Linked DNA regions of Homo sapiens: all the other regions are linked to region 2. Evidence: promoter capture Hi-C in 16 types of primary human blood cells and fetal thymus (Javierre and others, 2016). All regions are on one chromosome and are shown on one strand. The core of a region is centred on a gene start or on the middle of the fragment in contact, and the rest is flanking DNA. Distances in the headings are between cores, read along the strand shown.

Region 1 (3,922 bases), core at 1,276-3,775, 110 kb before region 2:
AAATCTCAACTCTTGACTTTTGATGTCATTTGATTTTATTTTTTAAATATTTGTAAATATGATGGCAAAATTATATCTTAATTAGCCTTTTTCTCATCACTTTTGAAAGTCAGCATCTTCTCATATATTTGTCATTTATATTACTTATTCAGTAAATTGCTCATTTCCTTTTCTCTTTTTTAATCAATTTATGTATTTTTTTCTCATGCATTTTAGTTTGCTCTTTATTCTAAATGCAGATCCATTGTCACATACTTTGCAAATGTTCCCACTAGTATATGTCTTGTTTTTTAAGTTTTCTTTCTTCCTTTTGTTTTTTTGTAGGCCTGGGTCAGCCTAGAGTCTTTTAAGTTTTTTTTTTTTGTTTTTTTTTTCTTTTTTGAGATGGAGTCTTGCTCTGTTGCCCAGGCTGGAGTACAGTGGCGCGATCTCTGCTCACTGCAAGCTCCACCTCCCGGGTTCACGCCATTCTCCTGCCTCAGCCTCCCAAGTAGCTGGGACTACAGGCTCCCGCCACCACGCCCAGCTAATTTCTTTTTGTATTTTTAGTAGAGACGGGGTTTCACCGTGTTGGCCAGGATGGCTACGATCTCCTGACCTCGTGATCCACCAGTGTCGGCCTCCCGAAGTGCTGGGATTACAGGCATGAGCCACTGCACCCAGCCGAGTCTTTTAAGTTTTCTTATTCAGCCTTTCGTTATTTAAAGGAAGAAGCTAATCAAAATAATAAGATACACGATCAGAATTACAGTATCATTTCCTGTTCTCTCTTTTCTCTGTTAGCACCTTCTGAAATAAGGTGGAATTTTTAGGTCTATACTGAACATTTCCTGATTCTACCATACTTTCTAGTCTTTGAGTGTTATGCAGTTTTGGGGGGAGAGTTTCATTATATTATCTTCTAGCTTATGTCCATTGTGTTTTTTTAATTCAACTGTAAAGCCCAACTTTGTACTTCAATTCTCGAATGGTTAATTTCCATTTTTATACTTAGTTCCTTTAAAATCTACTTTATAAATATATACCTTTTAAATATGCAGTTTAAGGAATTTCAAAAAATTTAAACAACTTTGTAATTATCACCAGTCATGATATAGAACATTTCCATCATTCCAAAATGTTCCCTCATGCCTCTTTGGAGTCAATCCTCTCCTCTCATCCCTAATCCTTGACAACCACAGGTATACTTTCTGTCACTAGAGTTTTGCCTTTTCTAAAATTCTACATAAAGGCAATTATATACTATGTAACATTTTGAAACTAGCTTTTTTTCACTTAGCATAATGCTTTGAGATTCATGACTTTTGTTATGTATTTAAGTGGTTTCTTTATTTTTATTGTTGAGGAGTATTCCACTGCATGGATATACCACAGTTATTTATCCAATCACTCATCAATGATTGGGTTGTTTGCAGTTTTTGGTGTGGATATTCGTGCCTGGTCAATGGCTGCTTTTGCATTACGGTGGCAAAGTTGGACAGTTCTGATAGATACCACATAACTTTCAAATCTAATAATATCTGTCCTTTATCCAATAATGTGACCTTTGCAGAAAGTTTGCCACCCCTTCATAGAGTATATTTAAAATAGCTGTTTCAATGTCTTTGATTGTTAATTCCATCAATTCTGTCATTTATGTTTCTTGTAATTGATTATTTTTTCTTTGCTTATGGGTCACATTTTTCTTTTATATGTCTGGCAACTTTTTACTGGATGCTGGACATTGTGAATTTTATGTCACTATGTGCTGAATTTTGTTGTATTCTTTTAAATAGAGTTGGAATGTGTAATGGCATTTGTTTACGTTACCTGGAGTCAGTTGTATTTTTTCAAAGTTACTTCTAACCTTTGTTAGAGCATTTCCAGAGTTGCCTTTGGTCTTGCAAAGAAAAATGCAAAATCTCAGGCTCCTCAAACTCTTTATGCCAACGGAAAGATTAAGTCTGGAGGCTTGAGTCATGCAACACCCTCTTCCAAATCAATAGCTGTTACTAGCATTATGCATCAGCCAGATCCCCATGGAAATATAGAAGGCCTCAGGCATCTACAAATGACTGCCCCCACAGATCATTCATAAGTAAATTCTTTGCTTGCCCCCCATAAAAAAGGACATGCCAAGGACATAGTAACTTTAGGTCTATAAACTAAGCCTAGCTTCAAAAACAAAAGTCTGTTCCATTACACACTGGTGATGTTGATTTTAAGCTTATCTTCCCAGGGGTAGAACAAAGACAAACCAAGATTAATAATTTCTCAACCCACCTGGAGATGTCTACATAATTGATTCTTCCTTTACTCCTTTTTTTTTTTTTAATCTTAAAACATTTACCTTACCTTATGTAAAATGTAGATTTACTGGGCACCAGCTAAAGTCCCACAAGATTGTAACTATTCACCTTATTGCCTACTTGCCCATCTTCCTACTTGCCTCTCCTCACCCTTTAAGGGAATGTATAAATATTAAACCTCCTGACAAATCTCTTCAGAAAAAAAGCCACAGATGCATCTCATATTTTTCCCAGACATGCCCTTAAGCTGGCTCAATAAACCTCAATTGATTGAGATCTTTCCCTCAGTCCCTCACTTCTGTTATCATTCTAGGGAAAATCTAACACTATTAATAAAGCCACTATCTTCTAAAGACTACTGGATGCCACTTGTCTTATGAGGTCATTTCACTCTAGCTTTTGGGAACATAAACCAATCCTGGCCCTGTGTGACGTATGGAAATTATCTAGTGGACTGTTTTTTCCATTGCTGTTTCCCTAACCTTGGGAAGTTTCTTCTCACTCATGTAGAGATAAGTACTCAACCAAAGTGCCAAGGAGACTTTTCTACAGATCTGTGAAGCTTTCTTTCTGTGCATCTCCCTTATTTATGATATTCTTTTTCATTAAATCTAGCTGACCTGGTCTCCTTGAACTCCCATCTCTGTCTCCTTAACTTAGTAGGAGTGCTGGGCTTTGAGTTTTTCCTTTCTGTATGGCAACCTCAAAAATGCTTCTAGTTGTTTTCCTCTTAGAGATAAGAGACCTTTCCTGCTTATGTTTCAGCATTTAAAAATAATTATTTCATATAGTCTGCTTCATTTTCTATTGTTGTATGTGGAGGATAAACCCAGTCTCTGCTACTGCATTATTGTAAGAAATGGAATTGTAGCATTGAAACTGCCTTTGCAAAAATGATAACTGTGAGAAAATTATGACAGTGAAAAAAATCTGATCTAACCAACACCCATCTCTTGCTTTTAGGCTCCAAACTGCTCCTCATCATTCCTGGGCTTTGGCCAAGCTAACTTGGGGAGACATTTAGTTTATAATTTAAATGATGAAAGCCTGTCCTCAAAATTAACCAACTTTGAAAAGCTAATGAAAGACCACCAGGTTGGGAGGATGAGAAGAGCCTGAATTCTGCTAAGATGTAGATATAAATGACTACCAGACTTTATTCTGGAAGTCACAAGATTTGCAACTTCCCCAATTACTCCTGCAGATAATATCACTATTGGCCTTTTGAGATGTCCTTTTCAGGTTTTTGCATTTCTGATGACCAATGCCTTTACCTGGACCCATCAGCTAGTCCCATGGCCCCACCCAGAAGTGGACTCAGGCACCCATAAGGACCATTTTCCGCACCCCTATGATTGCACCCCCAACCAATCAGCAGTACCCATTCCCTGGGCTGCCAAACTATTTGTGAAAAACATAGCCTCTGGATTTTCAGAGAGACTGATTTGAGTCATGAAACTCTGGCCACCCATTCACCTGGCTCTGCATGAATTAAACTCTTTCTCTATTGCGTTTCTTCTGTCTGGATAAATTGGCTCTATCCAGGCAGCTTGCAAAATGAACCTGTTGGATGGTTATAGTGTTGTCTCTTTTTATTGCTTAGTCCTCCTTTTACTTGCTCTACTTCATCTTCT
Region 2 (4,105 bases), core at 711-3,210:
TTTTGGTGAAATGAGAGTGTTAGGCTAGATTGCCTTTGAAGTCCCATTTTGTCTTTAAAGTCCCATCTATTGCAGTGATTTATATTTAACTCATGACAAATCAGGCTTCTCTTATTCTAAGTGCAAGACATAAAACTTTTATTGTGGAATTTCAGGCATCAGTAAATCTTTTTGGGTACTCACTTATGTTCCTGAAATCAATCTATTTGAGTGATCACTCTTTTAGGTGCCCAGGTAAACAAAGAAGGCCATGGTCTTTCTTTGAGTGACCTTCTTTCCCTTTTAATTAGTCTGACCTCTTTAATGTCAGTTCTGACTGATTCATTTCCCTGGTCCATCTTCCTTGGTCTGAGGGCCTTCCTAGTTTCATATTGCACTTCAGTTCCTTCCACACCACCATCAAGGATGGCTGTCAACATTCATTTGTTCTATGTTATAATTCAAGGAAAAGTTGCCCAGTAGCTAATCCAATAAATGCCCTCTTATGGGCGGCTAGAGACTTTTTCCTATAATTTAAATGCATCTTCTGTAGATTATGGTCCCTCCACCACTTTACATTTGTCTGCTGTCTCCTTGCTCTGCTAGTCATGGAACGTGTTGGTAGTGGGGGCAGTGTGGGATGTTCAAGGGCACGTATTGGGTAGGGCCACATATGGGCATTGCTTTGTGCCATTCTTTCTATATTTTTGGTATTTTGCATCTCACTGGAACCCAACTATTTTTCATCTCTTCCACCTAAACTATTTGATGCCTCTGTTTCTTATATATAAAGTATAGCTCACTGTAGCCTATGATCAGGAACCTATCTGCTTTCTAAATGAAAGCTGTTTTGGTCAGATCTAGCAATTAATTCCCTTCTTCCACTTATAGCTTTCCTCTGTAACTCTGGTGTAGGTATTTGGTTTATGGCTATAAGATGTGAAACACCTGAATGATTCTGTCCATGCAGGCATTTCAGTTCATGATATTGTATGTAAAAGATACTGATTGTCTAGGTGTTCAGAAACACCTATAGGGCTTAATATTCTTACAATCAGTTTGAAGGCTGGTGATACGCAAAGCAAACTACATATTTTTCTGCCTGCTCTCTCTCTTTCTCTCTACATCTCTCTTTCTTTATCTTTTGAAATATCAGTTTGGAGACTTAGAATTACATAAGACATAAACCCATTTGATATAAGAATTGCTGTGTATATTTGCTCATCTACTCCCTCCTTTGGTCCTCGAGCTGCCGGTTTAGACTTTTTACAGGACGCAGGCATGTGAAGGAGAAACTGTCAGTGCTAGGCTGAATTCTGTTGTTACCAAGATTTCTAGAAAAGTATTCCTCAGTCAGGTTGATTACAGATATAGCAAATCTATTTTTCCTAGGGTAGTTTCTGTATGCTGCCGGGCTTATAACTGTCTGTCATCCAGCTATTTCTCTCCACCTTCTTGTTTGCATAACAACCAAGGCAACTTCCGCAAATCACTGCGTGGAGACGATGATCCTGCCAGCTCCCTTTTGGAAATCGTGAGGATCAGATCTTGGACCATGTATAATATGATGCTTCTAATCCAAAAGAGGAAAGGCATTGGGAGTCAGCTCCTAAGTAAGCTCCAGAATTCCTGCTGGTACTTTTCCTTCCAGGAAGCAACTTCCTTGATATTTTTTTTTTACAGGCATATGAATAAAAACTATATTTTGCAGCATTGTACACTTTTTTTCCTTTTCTAGAAATTCTAAACCTCTGACATTGGTGGAGACATTGAGTACATTTTTTCCCATATCCCTACTTTTCAGAAGGATTTTCTCTGCTCGTTCACTTAACATTGCTGATGCGTCAGTCTTTTCTTCCTCATCTCTTTCAGGGGCTGGAGAGGCAGAGGGAGACAGAGGAGCTGGTACTGCAGAGCGGTCGTCTGATTGGCTGGACGGTCGTAGCTGGGCTATAAAAGAGACCCCTACAGGCTTAGCAGGAAGACGCTCAGAGGATTCTGACAATATCTTTACCGGAGAAGAGGCAAAGTACGCTCAAAGCCGAAGCCACAGCTCCTCCTGCCGCATTTCTTTCCTGCTTGCGAATTCCAAGCTGTTAAATAAGATGTGCAAAGGGCTTGCAGGTCTGCCGGCTTCTTGCTTGAGGAGGTAAGATTGCTTTCAGCCATTAACCATATTAAACTTTTGGCTAGACTTTCTCAGTTATTTACATGTTGTACTTACTAACCTAGTTCTGTGCAATTAGAAACAGTGTGGTCAGGAGAGCACGACTTTCTAACTTTCCTCCAAGACTAGCTAGATATTGTGACTTAAGACATGTGCTCCCCAAATTTCAGCCCTTATGTGTTGTTTTGTGTGACCTCAGTTTTGAGAACTGTTCTATTCTTTAAGCCAGGTCTAAGAAAGCTAGTTTTAATTAAGAAGCGAGATGAGGTTTGAGGCTATGTACAGTGATCTGTAATATCTCCATCTGTGATTACTACTGCTATTTGAGCATCCCTGGAGTACATAGAAGCCTGGCTCTGGGCTTTCTGATTGTATGCTACAACTTGTTTCAGGAAAGGTACCCCAGAATGAGGTTTGGCTCCATCATCAGAAAGGCACTATGCTTTCCGTGTGGTGGTGCAGTAACTTTCACTCTCTATGTTCTTATAAGCAAATGTTACAATGAGATATGAGTTTTAAAGCCAGATCTTCCTTATCTCTCTGCCCCATCTCTAGTTCTTGAAGTGTCTCATATGAGTTTGGTTGAGAAATATTGATCATTACAAATCAGTTAATAGTTTTGTAGAAGATCTCATCTTAAAGACATTGTTTTGTTAATATACTCCCTTGATTTTTTTAAAAGACCTTACAGACATACAGCTATTCATTTGTTTTTGGTTTGTTCAAAAAAGGTATAAAGAAATGCATTCAGAGAAAGATCATATATTAGCCAGTTGAAAATTAAACACAAAATGAGTGCATATTACATTACTTAATCTTGCAGTCAAAGGTAAAAAGTCAACCTAAAGGTATACTACCTGCTTTCTTATCGCACTGCAAATAGAAATTACCACAAATTTTATTTTGGAAATAATCTCAGAAAACATAATTTTTTATGTACTATTAAAACATTTACTTTCCAAATATTCTGTCATTCAGGAGTATGGAAGTATCGATGGCTTCTTTAAAATGAAGCAGGAGGGTCTGGCAGAGAGTATCTATGAAATAAGTTCCTCTGACCTTCACGCTTAATTTTCTGAATGGAGTGGAGCAAATTACTTCAAGCTTCACTTAACTTGCATATGAAATGAACCGTACAAAAATACAAGAGTGTCAGGAGAAAGTTATGCTCTGGTAAATATTTTGCAAAACAGATAAAAGATAATACTAGAGCTCTGTCCTCAAAGAGTTAAGCAGCTAATCTAAGGAGGTAAACTCTATGTCAGCAGGATGAACTGCTCTTCCCTTTCCTCCTCAATAAATTGCAAATCATCTAGTCCAACATCTTTACCACCAGTGCCTGAGGCTCCAGAGGAGCCATTGCCTTCTCAAGGTCACATAGGTGGTGGGTGAGTTAGGACCAAATCTAGAATTCCTGACTCCAGTAACTTCTGAAGTCATTTTGTTTTTTATTTTTATGGTTTTATTATAAGAATACTTGCTAAGCACACTTACCCCCTGCATTGATTAATAACTCTAGGATCTCAGGTGGATCCAGCACATAGAAATATGAATTCGTTTCTATTTGGACTTCATGATATATTTACATTATCACCTTGGAATCACCCTAACATTCAGGATTGTATCTTGTTATAATCAAAAAGGATGTTGCATCCCCTGAACAGTCATCAGTCAGGGAAGCAGAGGAGGGAAAGTAATCTTGCGAGGAAGAGAAAATACTATTTAAGGGACAGTCAGAGAACATAATGGAATTCAAACTTTCTGGGAAAACCTACATACATAAATGTATTAGTGGCCATCCTAAATGTCTTTATATCTTTGAGGCTTTATTTTCCCTACTCCAAATAGACACATTTAGTTATTCATTTCTTTTAAAATGGTATTTCTCTTTTTAAACTATTTCTTGACTTTTTTAATAAAAAGAGATGCAAGCAAGAGGATATTTAATAAAAAGTAAGA
Region 3 (3,929 bases), core at 293-2,792, 85 kb before region 2:
GTATGTGTTCATTTTGGATGAGGGAGAGTTTCTAATTACTCACTTTTGAGTGTAAAAAATACAGACCAGAAATGAGTGACAACCATATTCGGACCATCAATGAATTCATATTAATGGAAGCACTAGGCTCAGGGAAGTTTCTCTTATCATATGTGACTACAGATTAGACCAGTGGCTCTCAAAATGTGGTCCCCAGACCAGACCAGCAGCATCAGCATTACCTAGGAACTTATTAAAAATGTAAACTCTCTGTCCCCACCTAGTGAGTCAGAAACTCTGTTGGTGGGGCCAACAATCTGTAGCTTAACAGGCCCTCCAAGTAATCCTGATGCATGCTAAAGCTTGAATTCTTATTCTTTTTGCTCTTCTGGTTTTTCACATCTATCTCGCTGTGCTCACTCCTTCTCATCGCAGTGGCTCATGCTACACAGCCAGGGTCAGTGGAAATCAGAAGTATTGGACTTCAGCCCTAGTTCCTTCTCTAACTAGCTCTAAATCTTTGAGAGAGATTATGCAAACTTCAGTTTCCTTAGCACAAAAAATAATATCATGATAACATCTGTTCTGCTGACCTTATAGACTCATATTAGATAAGTATCAAATAAGACACATGAAAGCATTTTAAACTGAAAGGGGTGAGAAAATGTATGGTAAGAATGATGCTAGTCATGGTTATTGTGTCTATGTTCTTCTTACACAAAGACTCAGATAAACCCTTCATAGGAAATCAGTCTACATGTATTATGCAGCGTATATTAATATTATTTAAAAGACAGTGCTAAAAACTAGGGAGTCTTGAGATAAAGAAGAGATATGACTCTTGCCTTAGCAGAATTTCAAAACTAGTTGGTGGGAGGCATTATAAGCACATATCATGTATCTTCAAAAGACCTACAACAACACATAATTATTGGGCAGATGGCATGTAGAATCAGGTGTGATTCATTCATTCCAACGTTGCAGCCTTCTTTGGGTCATAGACCCACCCTTTGAGAATCTCATTTTTAGAATTGTTTAGCACAATAATTCTAGGGATCCTTTACCTAGAAAAGTGCACCACCTATGCATTACGACTCAAAATATGTGTAAAAATACAATTTTTAGATATTGATAGACTCTCTTGAAATGTACTTACAGACTTCTAGATTAAGAACTCCCCTGGTTTTGGAGCAGATAAGAGACAATGATTAGCAAAAAGAAGGAAATTTGGTTTTCCCTGCAAGCTCTTTGAGAATCCTGTGGTTGGTAGTCTCTGGGCTTCTCTTGTGACTCACTTTAACCAACAATAATGGTGGAGTTAATATGGTGCCTGTTCAGGACTGAAGCCATAATAAGGTGCAGAAACTGTGCTTTTGTGGTTTTGGGAGCCCTAAGCTGCCATATAAGAAGTCTACCTTACTAGAGAGAACATCTAGAGAGGCCAAGTTAAGAGAGAAAGAGAGAGACTCAGTCCTACCAACAACCCAGATGAACCCAGCCCTGCCAAGGCATGTGAATGAGCCATCTTAAGTGTTCCCACCAGTGACGTCCCCAGATAACTATAGCCCCGGCAGACTCCATGTGGAGAAGAAATGTCCAGCTGGACACCCAGTCAATTCATAAAATCATGAGAGATAATAAAAACTATTCTTGTGTTAAGCCACTAAGTTTTGGGTGTGATTTGTTATGCAGCAGTAGATGTCAGAAACAAATGGCTAGAACAAAAATAAGAAATTGGGAATTAAATGAATTATGTTCCAAAAATAATGTGAAGATTAATGGGCCTAGAAGAGTCAACACAGAAATTTATGTGAGAAGTAGGATAGTAGAAATGAGGCATGCCAAGTTCATCCTAGGCTTTAAGAGTTACAGGAAATTACTGTGTTCTCAGGCATCTCTTGTATCTGGAAGCAGGATGTACGTCACTTTCTAATAGGCTTATCTTTTGGGTGAGGTGGAGTAAAGGGTATTAAGGGAGATGCAAAAACAATCACAGTCTACACTGATTCATATGTGAAACATGGAACACGGACCCAGGCTTGCTCTAGCCTAGGGAGAGCTTTGCTTTATGAGCACTGGGGAGGAAGGAAGCATCTGATACTTCTTTGGGTTCCCTATTGGTTCTCACTTGTTTATTCCTATAATTATCAGAAAAAGACCTTGCTTCTAGCTTTTAGAAAATGGGAGAAACATTCCTCTTTGGAGTAATTCACAAAGACATATTGATTGCCCCTGTTGGAGGCCTTGAAAGAGGATACAGGAAAGGTAAAGACTAGAGATCTATTCTTTCATTTGGAATGCAACTATCATCAGCTACTTTTGCAGGACAATGGAGCACTCCCAAAACTGGCACTCAAATTGGCCAATCTGAGCACATTACCAGGGCCAGCAATACGTGCAAATTTGAAATTGGAAAAGGGACAGTGCTTGGGATGGCATAAAACTAGGGACAAAGTCAGAAAGTCTTGGATGCCACTTCTAACATCGTGCCCCAACCACAGCTACTGAGAGCCTACGTGGAGTAATGGCAGAAGTCTTACTCTCAGAGACACTGGAGTTTTGTTCTGGTGCTATTATTAATCTTCAACAAGACATTAGCAAGTCACTTCTCTTCTCCAGGCTTCAGTCATCTTATTTGTAAAAGCATTAGACCACACTAATGCTTCTCAAACTTCAATGTGCAAACAAATCACCTAGGGATCTTGTTAAAGTGTAGATTCTGATATATTAGGTCTAGGGCAGGGTCTGAAATTCTGCATCACTGGCAAGCTTCTAGATTATGCCAGTGCTGCTGATGAGTGGATCATACTTTGAGTAGCAAGGGACCAACCAGCAGATTCCCTTAGGCCATCTTTCAGGTTCGTGATTCTGATTCCATTCTTTGACTCTCGAAATCATGAACACTCCATTTCCCTACTACCTCCTCTAAAACACAAATAATTCACCAAGTAAAGATGCTTATGAAGTTTCCAATGTTTGTCAGATGTTTGTCAAGCTTAAGAAACCAAGCTCTATACACTGACCACATGCAAATGTGTAGCTCTTACCCTGACCTACGTGGGCCCTGAGATGTGTGTCTTGTGAGAGAGGTAACATTTGGATTCTTTCCCAGGCAGCCAAACCATACCATGCAAAAAGAATTTGAATCTGGAAAAACAATGAAAAACTTTTCCTTTAGCAAATCAGCTCAGTAGAGCAGCACCCAACACTGCAAGTTATCCTCCTAGCAATTAGCATGCAAATGACTTTTGACACCCATTTGCTAATGTCAGCTTAATGCAGACATATGGGAGGATATTGAAGTAGAAAGCTACTGCCCTTTTAGATGACAGCAATTATTATTACATTTCCAGGAACTCCTTTCTGTGTTCCCATAGCAACTCAGATCAATTTAGCTTTACTGATACACTGAACAGGTTTAGTTTTGGAGAGGGAGTAGTTAAGGCCATCCTCAAGTAGAAATAAGTAGTTGGCCGCACAATCTGTCATTTCACCCCCACTTTCACCCTACTCACCTTGTATGAAATTCCCTCTTTATGGGAGTTGCAATGCTGCTTTTTAGTTCCGGCCAGACATATTTTAGTCTTATAAAAATATACATTTTTTATTCCAGAACCTTGCCGCCATTTCACCATCACTTTGGAAAGCTGCTAAGTTGTGTTAGTATAGACAGAATACAACTGTTTCTTCATTATCCTGTCACTTATTGAGCATGCAAATTTTCTATTTCATTTATTTGGAGCTTGAAGGATTTTCTTACCTGTGAGAGTTCCCGTTCCCAGTGTATATGCTCCTGTGAAGAGATTTATTGCATTACAGATAGCTCTAGACTGGAAGTCAGGATATTGTGGTCTCACTTGGGTTTCGTAACTGAGGAATGGTGATACCTTTCTGGAATCACTTCCTTCTTCTCGGCCTCCTGCAAAATGGAAACATAAGAATAGGTCTTG

What was found. The method cuts DNA at HindIII sites, captures the fragments that hold promoters and counts their contacts. A CHiCAGO score of 5 or more calls a contact.
Region 1: a fragment that was not itself captured here is called in contact with the fragment with the promoter of RGS4 in region 2 in 1 of 17 cell types (endothelial precursors); the score reaches 5.2 in endothelial precursors.
Region 3: a fragment that was not itself captured here is called in contact with the fragment with the promoter of RGS4 in region 2 in 1 of 17 cell types (endothelial precursors); the score reaches 6.8 in endothelial precursors.

Annotation. Positions count from the first base shown.
Region 1 is chr1:162,959,465-162,963,386 of GRCh38, forward strand. No RefSeq gene overlaps it. Among named protein-coding and RNA genes, the nearest start is that of CCDC190, 100 kb to the left of the region's middle. The HindIII fragment of the contact is 645 bases long and covers 2,204-2,848 here.
Region 2 is chr1:163,067,401-163,071,505 of GRCh38, forward strand. RGS4 (regulator of G protein signaling 4) reads left to right here and starts at 1,961. Exons shown (of 5, transcript NM_005613.6): 1 at 1,961-2,128. The coding sequence starts at 2,085. The HindIII fragment of the contact is 6,604 bases long and covers 1-3,248 here.
Region 3 is chr1:162,982,967-162,986,895 of GRCh38, forward strand. No RefSeq gene overlaps it. Among named protein-coding and RNA genes, the nearest start is that of RGS4, 84 kb to the right of the region's middle. The HindIII fragment of the contact is 2,407 bases long and covers 340-2,746 here.